Linked DNA regions of Homo sapiens: region 2 is linked to region 1. The links are contacts of gene promoters, found by promoter capture Hi-C in human tissues and cell types (Jung and others, 2019). All regions are on one chromosome and are shown on one strand. Each heading gives the region's core, a stretch centred on a gene start or on the middle of the fragment in contact. The rest is flanking DNA. Distances are from core to core; before and after follow the strand shown. Region 1 holds the start of ZNF736 (zinc finger protein 736). Region 2 has its middle 420 kb from the start of LINC03075.

Region 1 (4,299 bases), core at 1,684-4,183:
TCTGTTTGAAATCATGCTAAATAGAACAGACGCGGAATCTTACTACACTCACTGTGGGAAATATAAAAGGTAAATGAGAATTTTCAACCAATGGAATATAAACTATTTTTTTCTAAAATCTACCTCTTTTCTTTTAGAAAATTTTTTTTTTAATCTTTCAAGCTCTAATGATAAAATCCATTATACAATTAATGAAAAACTGAAGTTGAAATAACTGAACATATATATTGAAGGTGACAAACACAGGGAGAAGTAGTGCTGACTGGAACACAAATGTTTTAGACTCATGTGTCAATCACTTGAGAGATTCTCCCACCCCCATTCTGCTCACTAAAGTACTTGATCATCACTCTCCCAAAAGATACTGCACTTGCCCCCTGTGTGGCAGATGTGTATTTTGCTTTGCAAATTTATACACTCCCTCACTAGAGTGGATCTTTCCTGTACTTTGGGACAGTTATTCTCCTTCACAAGCCTGAGAGAAACCAGAGGGCAAGATGCATTTGTGCCTTTTCCCCTCAATATCAGCACCTGATTGGTTGACCACCAATGTGTCTGCAAGAAATGAAAACTAGGATTGAGGGGAAAAAAATCTTAATGTTAAAGCAGTTAGCTTTTTAGAGGAAGGGTGAATCAGGAAACTGCTCTCAGCACGAGGGCATCCAGCTGCTCCCCTGAGAGGCTCCACCCAATGCCTCAGGCTCTTCTCTGAAAGGAGATGACCCAGGGGCTAATGTTTGCTAGACACTCCAAGAGATATGGTCCTTGTGGGTATCTTGGATCATCCCCAGAAAGCTGTAATACTTGGACCAGGAAAACACAGGAGAGTGACTGAGGACACATCACCCTGCAAAGGATCCAAAGACATTCTGGGAAGGCGCGCGTGCCTAGAGAAGATGAGAGGAGATGCGCAGTGTCAGGTGACTACTCTTTGCTTTTCTGTCCTGTGAAATATGCACAAACAGACTAATATATTAAAAAGAGCCACCCACGGCTCTGTTAAACAAAAATAAACAAAATGCCACATCCGTTTTAAAATTAAATAAAGAACTGATAGTTCATAATGTGATTTGGAGAGGGATAGTTGGCATTTGGGAATGTGGGAAAGAAATTGGAAATTTAGAATTTTATACAGTCCCTAGAACAGTTAGGCTGGGAGAACAGTTTTAGATTTGAGACCCTGCTTGCCAAACATTTGAAAAATGCAGAGAAAACCAACGACCCTGTGGAGCATTAAAATAATTAAATAGCTAGCAATTAGGCTGAAGTGGCCATGGTGCCCTGGGATTCTGCCTAAGGAAACCTAACTACGTCGAAGGAATTTCTGGTAAATTATTAACTTTGAGAAACAACAACAACAACAACAAAACAACTTAGGCTTAACCAACCACAAGCTGCCAATAAAAAGCTCTAATTACATAACCAGGACATTTCCACCGGAGGGCTGCAAATGCAATACGTAACTGTAACCAATCAAATATTGAATCTGGTTTGCTTCCTCATACCTCTTAAAAAAAAAAAACAACCTTTTGTTCCAAGACCCTCCTTTGAGCCCCCAAACAACAAATCATAGCTGGGTGTTCTCTGATTGATAAATTACTGTTTGTGCAAGTAAACTATTTGTATTAATCGCTTCTGGCATTACTATAAATACCTCAGACTGGGTAATTTATAAGAGGATTAATTGGCTCATGGTTCCACAGGCTGCATAGAAAGCATAACACCAGCGTCTGCTTCTGGGGAGGCCCCACCCAGAAAGCTTAAAATCATGGATGAAGGTGAAGCAAGAGCTTGAAAAAGAGGCAAGGTGGGGTGCTGTACACTTCTAAATGATGAACTTCAGGGAACTCACTCACTATTGAGAGGACAATACCAAGAGGAATGGTGCTAAACTATTCGTGAGAAATCCGGGCCCACAATCCTTCCACCAGGCCCCACCTCCAACATGGGGGATTACATTTAAATAGGAGATTTGGGCTGGAAAACACATCCAAATTATATCCTAAAGTTGCCTCAATTTAGGCTAGGGTGGTGGGTCATGCACGTAATCCCGGCACTTTAGGAGGCCCGAGGCGGGCGGATCACCTGAGACCTGAGCTCGGGGAGTTCGAGACCAGCCTGAGCAACATGGCAAAAGCCTGTCTCTACAAAAACAAACAAAACAAAATAGGCGTGGTGGCGCACCCCTCTAGTCCTAGCTACTTGGGGGGCTGGGGTGAGAGGATCATCTGAGCCCAGTAGGTGGAGGCTGCAGTGAACCGAAATGCACTTTAGCCTGGGCAACAGAGTGAGACACTGTCTCAAAAATAAATAAATTTAAAAAAGGGCCATGATTTTATTTTTAAAAGGAGAAAGGAGGGACTAGGGACCCCACGGCCCACTGCTTCTTCCACGGAGGAACTCCAGACCCTAAATGAGAATTCCCGTCTTATGACACTCCCAACACCCCCACACAATCTGGAGGAGGGAGACTCGAGGTTGCGGCACAGAGCTGCCCAGGAAGGGATCTGAGCTGGGGAGAAATTCGAGTTTAGGGACAAAACAAGACGTAGCGTTTTGGCTGCTGGCTCAGCCCCTAATCTGCGATGGAGGGAAATGAGGATTGAGCTGTGCCCGCGGGGACTCGGGGATGCAGACTCCAGAGCAGACCGCGAGAAGGCCCAGATACCACCGCAGCCGGTTCCGGCCGGATTCAAACAGCCTCTTCCCCATTCTCGGGACACCCACTCCACGCACTCACCATTTCCCAGCCTCCAGATGTTCCGCCGTCCTCCCTATGGATCTCCCAGTACCTGCAGGTCACAGGATAACAGAAGCTATAGTAGAGTCACCGAGGAACTCCAGGAACGGAGGAGATGGAACAGTGGAGACGCGAACTAGGATCAGAGCCCGGAAGCTAGGAGACAAAGGCCCCGCCATATTGAAGAGGCCGCCTCTTCCTCTGTAGCTGCGCACTTGATTGGACAGTTTCACGCTGGCGCCACTGATTGGCTAGGGCTCCAGGCCCCACCCGTTTCAATCCTAAGTGACAGAAGATGTAATCAGACACTGGGCTGAATGAGGCAAGGGTGACAGGTTTTTGCCTGCAGCGTTTTCAGGCGAGTCCTCCCTGTGCTGGGGGCCTGGCCCTGCCTGAGAGACATTTGTATTTAACCTTGCATATAAGATTATATCACTTTCTGATTATATTTTCGTGTGTGTGTATATATTACATTCTGAATTATAGTTATGTGTATGCTGCAGGCCCTGTCTCAGCATCCTGTCTTTCCCTTTAGCTGCAGGAGATCAAAGTCCTCCAGGAGATGCAGCTGCTTCAGCTGGCTGTAGACAATTATCACCTTCAGTCTGTGAAGCAATTTTGGGTCTGCTTCCAATTAATGGAGTGTCTCAGTGAGACTGAGAGGTGAGGGCCTAGCAGATTGGTTAGAGGTGCCACTCGCCCAGGCCTCCCAAAACACCCTGTCTCTTTCCCACCAAAGCTGAGCCTGCCTGAGGACCTAAACAAGCATGGAGAACCAAGATGGGACCCTAGTCAGGGATAGTGCTGGGCTGTGGGGTAAAGTCAGCTAGGTCAGGGCCTCCAGGTGTGGGGAGGAGCCGGCCTCTTCTGTAGAGCCCTGGGCAAGTCACTGCCCTCTTTGGGCCTCTGTTTTCTTATCTAAAAAATGTAGGGATGATGAGCCTCACAGGGTAATGAGGAGCTTCAAAGGAGAAAAATTTGAGAGTGCTTGTGCCTGGCTCTTCCTGAGAGAGATGATGATGAGAACAATGGTGACGGCTACATATAACTGAGTCCTCACGAGGCCCAGTGAGGTAGGTGTGGTTCCCATCACACTTTCAAGTTGAGAAACAGTCTCAGGGAGGCCTGGCTGCATGCCCAAGGTTCCACACACAGTGAGTGTTGCAGCAGGGAGTGAATCTAGAATCAGAGTTTACTGGAGGTGGCAGGAGCACTGGACCAGCTTGACTCACACCAGTTATCCAGGGTACCAGGTCAATGTAACTGGGCATAACTGGGTGAAGGGAGCATAATATCACTGACCTTGTCCTTGACCCTGGCAGAGGAAGACACCCAAGTTGGCCACCCTAGAGAAGAAACCACAGAAAGCCCAGATGAGGCTAAAGCAGCAAAAAGGCAGGTACCTGTGATGGGGAAGAGCTCCAGGGATTCAGAGGGAAGAGCTCCTCCCTCCCAGCTGGAGGCCTCCACATCAAAAGAGCAAGGGGCCTTTCTCCCTCAGCCCTTCCCTCCTGTGGCAACAGTCCCTGAAATGCCTCTATAAGAGAAATCAGAGTAAA
Region 2 (3,841 bases), core at 581-3,080, 1.4 Mb after region 1:
TCACAGAGTTAAATCTCTCTATTCATTCAGCAATTTGGAAATACTGTTTTTGTAGAATCTGCAAAGTTATAATTTGGAGCGCATTGAGGCCTATGGTGAAAAAGGAAATATCTTCAGATAAAAGCTAGAAAGAAACATTCTGAAAAGCTGCTTTGTGATGTGTGTATTCATCTCACAGAGATGAAACTTTCAGTGGATTCAGTAGTTTGCAAACACTGTTTTTATCCATTCTGTGAATGGACATTTTGGAGCTAATTGAGGCCAATGTCATAAAAGGGAATATCCCAGGATAAAAGCTAGAAGGAAGATATAAAGAAGCCAGTTTGTGACATGAGCATTCACATCACAGAGATAAATCTTTCTTTTCATTCAGCTGTCTAGAAACACTGTTTTGGCAGAATCCACAAAAGGATATTTGGGAGCGCATTCAGGTCTTTGGTGAAAAAGGAAATATCTTCAGATAGAAACTAGAAAGAATTCTGAGAAACTGCTTTGTGATGTGTGCATTCAGCTGACAGAGTTTAACCTTTCTGCAGATTCAGCAGTTTGGGTAAACTGTTATTGTAGAATCTGCAAAGAGATATGTGGTAGCTCATTGCAGCCAAAGGTGAAAAGGTGAGTATCCCAGGTTAAAAAAATAAAAGGAAGATATGTGAGAAACAGCTTTGCGACGTGTGCATTCAAATATCAGAGGTAAACTATTCTTTTCATTCAGCAGTTTGGAAAAACTGTTGTAGAATCTGTGAAGTTATATTTGGGAGCACGTTGAGGCCCATTCTGGAAAAGGAATAACTTCAGATAAAAACTAGAAAGAAGCTTTCTGAGAAACTGCTTTGTCATGTGTGCATTCATCCCACAGAGTGAAACCTTTCTCTGGATTCAACAGTTTGCAAAGACTGTTTTTGCACATTCTACGAATGGACATTTGGGAGCTCATTGAGGTCAGTGAAGAAAAAGTGAATATCCGAGGATAAAAACTAGAAGGAAGGTATCTGAAAAAGAATTTTCTGATGTGTGCATTCATGTCTCAGATTTAAACCATCCTTTTAATTCAGCAATTTGTAAACACTGTTGTCATAGAATCTGCAAAGTTATATTTGGGAGTTCATTGAGGCCTATGGTGAAAAAGGAAATATCTTCAAATAAACTATAAACATTTCTTTGGATTCAACATTTTGGAAACACTGTTGTTGTAGAATCTGGGAAGGATATTTGGAACCTCATTGAGGCCAAATTCGAAAAGTTACATATCCCAGGAAAAAAACTAGAAGGAGACTACCTGAGAATCCACTTTGTGATGTGTGCATTCAACTCTATGACTTAAACAATTCTTTTCATTCAGCAGTATGTATACACTGTTGTTGTAGAAAGTGCAAAGTTATATTTGCAAGTGCATTGAGTTCTGTGGTGAAAAAGGAAATATCTTCAGATAAAAATTAGAAATAAGATTTCTGAGAACTGCTTTGTTATATGTGCATTCATCTCAGAGAGTTCAAACTTTCTGTGGATTCAGCAGTTTGCAAACACTGTTTTTTGTCCATTCTGAAAATGGACATTTGGAAGCTCATTGAGGCCAATGGCAAAAAAGGAATATCCCAGGATAAAAAATAGAGAGAAGCTATTGAGAAACCACTTTGTGTTGTATGGATTCTTCTCACAGAGTTAAACCTTTCTTTTCATTGAGGACTTTGGAAACACTGTTTTTGTAGACTCTGCAAAGGGATATCTGGCAGTGCTTTGAAGCGTATGGTGAAAAAGGAAATATCTTCAGATAAAAACTAGAAAGAAGCTTTCTGAGAAATCACTTTGTGATGTGTGGATTCCCCTCACAGAGATAAATCTTTCTTTTCATTTCACTTTGGAAACACTGATTTGGCAGAATCTTCAAAAGGATATTTGGGAGAACATAGAGGCCTATGGTTAAAAAGGAAATATGTTCAGATAAAATCTAGAAAGAAGCTTTCTGAGAATCTGCTTTGTGATGTGTGCATTCATCTCACAGAGCTAAACATTTCTTTGGATTTATCAGTTTGGAAACACTCTTGTAGAATCTGTGAAGGGATATTTGAGAGCTCACTGAGACAAATGGTGAAAAAGCAAATATCCCAGGGTCAAAACTAAAAGGAAGCTATCTGAGAAACCACTTTTTGATGGGAACCTCGCAGAGTTAAAACTTTCTTTTCATTCAGCAGTGTGGAAACACTGTTTTGGCAGAGTCCATGAAGGGATGTTTGGGAATGCATTGAGGCCTAAGGTGAAAAAGGAAATATCTTCAGATAGAAACAAGAAAGAAGATTTGTGAGAAACTGTTTTGTGATGTGTGCATTCATCTTGGAGAGTTAAACCTTTCTTTTTCATTCAGCAGTTTGAAAACACTGTTTTTGTGGAATCTGCATGGTGATATCTTGGGGTACAATGAGGCTTATGGTGAAAAGGGAAATATCTTCAGATAAAAACTAGAAAGGAGCTTTCTGAGAAATGGCTTTGTGATGTGTGCATTCATCTCACAGAATTAAACATTTCTGTGGAATCAGCAATTTGCAAACACTGTTTTTGTCCATTCTGCAAGTGGAGATTTGGGAGCTCATTGAGGCCAATTTCAAAAAATCGAATATCCTAGGATCAAAACTAGAAGGAAGTGATCTGAGAAACTGCTATGTGATGTGTGCATTCATCTGGTAGATTTAAACCTTTCTTTTTTTCAGCAGTTTGGAAACATAGTTTTCGTAGAATCTCTGAAGGTATATTTGTGAACACATTGAGGCATATGGTGAAAAAAGAAATATCTTCTGATAAAAACTAGAAAGAAGCTTTGTGAGAAACTGTTTTGTGATGTTCCCTTCATTGCACAATAGTAAACATTTCTGTGGAATTAGCAGTTTGCAAACACTGTTTTTGTCCATTCTGTGAATGGACATTTGGAAACTCATTGAGGTCAAAGGCAAAAAAGTGAATACCCCAGGATTAAAACTAGAAGGAACCTAGCTGAGGAATTGCTTTGTGATGTGTGCATTCATCTCTCAGAGACAAACTTTCTTTTCATACAGCAGTCTGGAAACACCATTTTGGCAGAATCTGTGGAGGGATATTTAGGAGCACATTGAGCCTATGGTGAAGAAGGAAATATCTTCAGATAAATACTAGAAAGAAGCTTTCTGAGAAACAGGTTTATGATATGTGCATTCATCTAACAGAGTTAAACCTTTCTGTATGTTCAGCAGTTTGTAAACACTGTTTTAGTAGAATCTGTGAAGTGATGTCTTTCAGTGTATTGAGGCCTATGGTGTAAAATGAAATATCTTCAAAAAAAAAAGGAGAAAGAAGCTTTCTGAGAAACTGCTTTGTGATGTGTGCATTCATCTCACAGAATTAATCCTTTCTGTGGATGTAGCAGTTTGGAAACCCTGTTTTTGTAGAATCTATGAAGGTATATTATGGAGCTTAATGAGGTAAAAGGTTAGAAAGTGAATATCCCAGAAAAATAAACCTAGAAGGAAGCTATCCAAGAAACAGCTTTGTGATGTGTACGTTCATCTCACAGAGTTAAACTCTTTTTTTCACACTGCAGATTGTGAACACTGTTGTTGTAGAATCTGTGAAGAGATATATGAGAACTCACTGAGGCAAAAGGCAAAAAGAGAATATCCCAGAAAAAAACTAAAAGGAAGCTATCTGAGAAACTGCTTTGTGATGTGTGCTTTCATCTTGCAGAGTTACATCATTCTTTTCATTCAGCAGTTTGGAAACACTGTTTTTGTAGAATTTGCGAATTTATATTTTGGAGTGCATTGAGGCCTGTGGTGAAAAACGAAATGTCTTCGGATAAAAACTAGCAAGCTTC

Evidence for each region. The method cuts DNA at HindIII sites, captures the fragments that hold promoters and counts their contacts. A contact is called where the count stands out against the background at its distance.
Region 2: a fragment that was not itself captured here is called in contact with the fragment with the promoter of ZNF736 in region 1 in 1 of the 25 tissues and cell types used here (mesendoderm cells).

Annotation. Positions count from the first base shown.
Region 1 is chr7:64,312,595-64,316,893 of GRCh38, reverse strand. ZNF736 (zinc finger protein 736) reads right to left here and starts at 2,933. Exons shown (of 4, transcript NM_001170905.3): 1 at 2,741-2,933. The coding sequence starts at 2,743. RefSeq lists an enhancer at 2,701-2,880. The HindIII fragment of the contact is 17,485 bases long and covers 683-4,299 here.
Region 2 is chr7:62,937,048-62,940,888 of GRCh38, reverse strand. No RefSeq gene overlaps it. Among named protein-coding and RNA genes, the nearest start is that of LINC03075, 420 kb to the left of the region's middle. The HindIII fragment of the contact is 3,503 bases long and covers 79-3,581 here.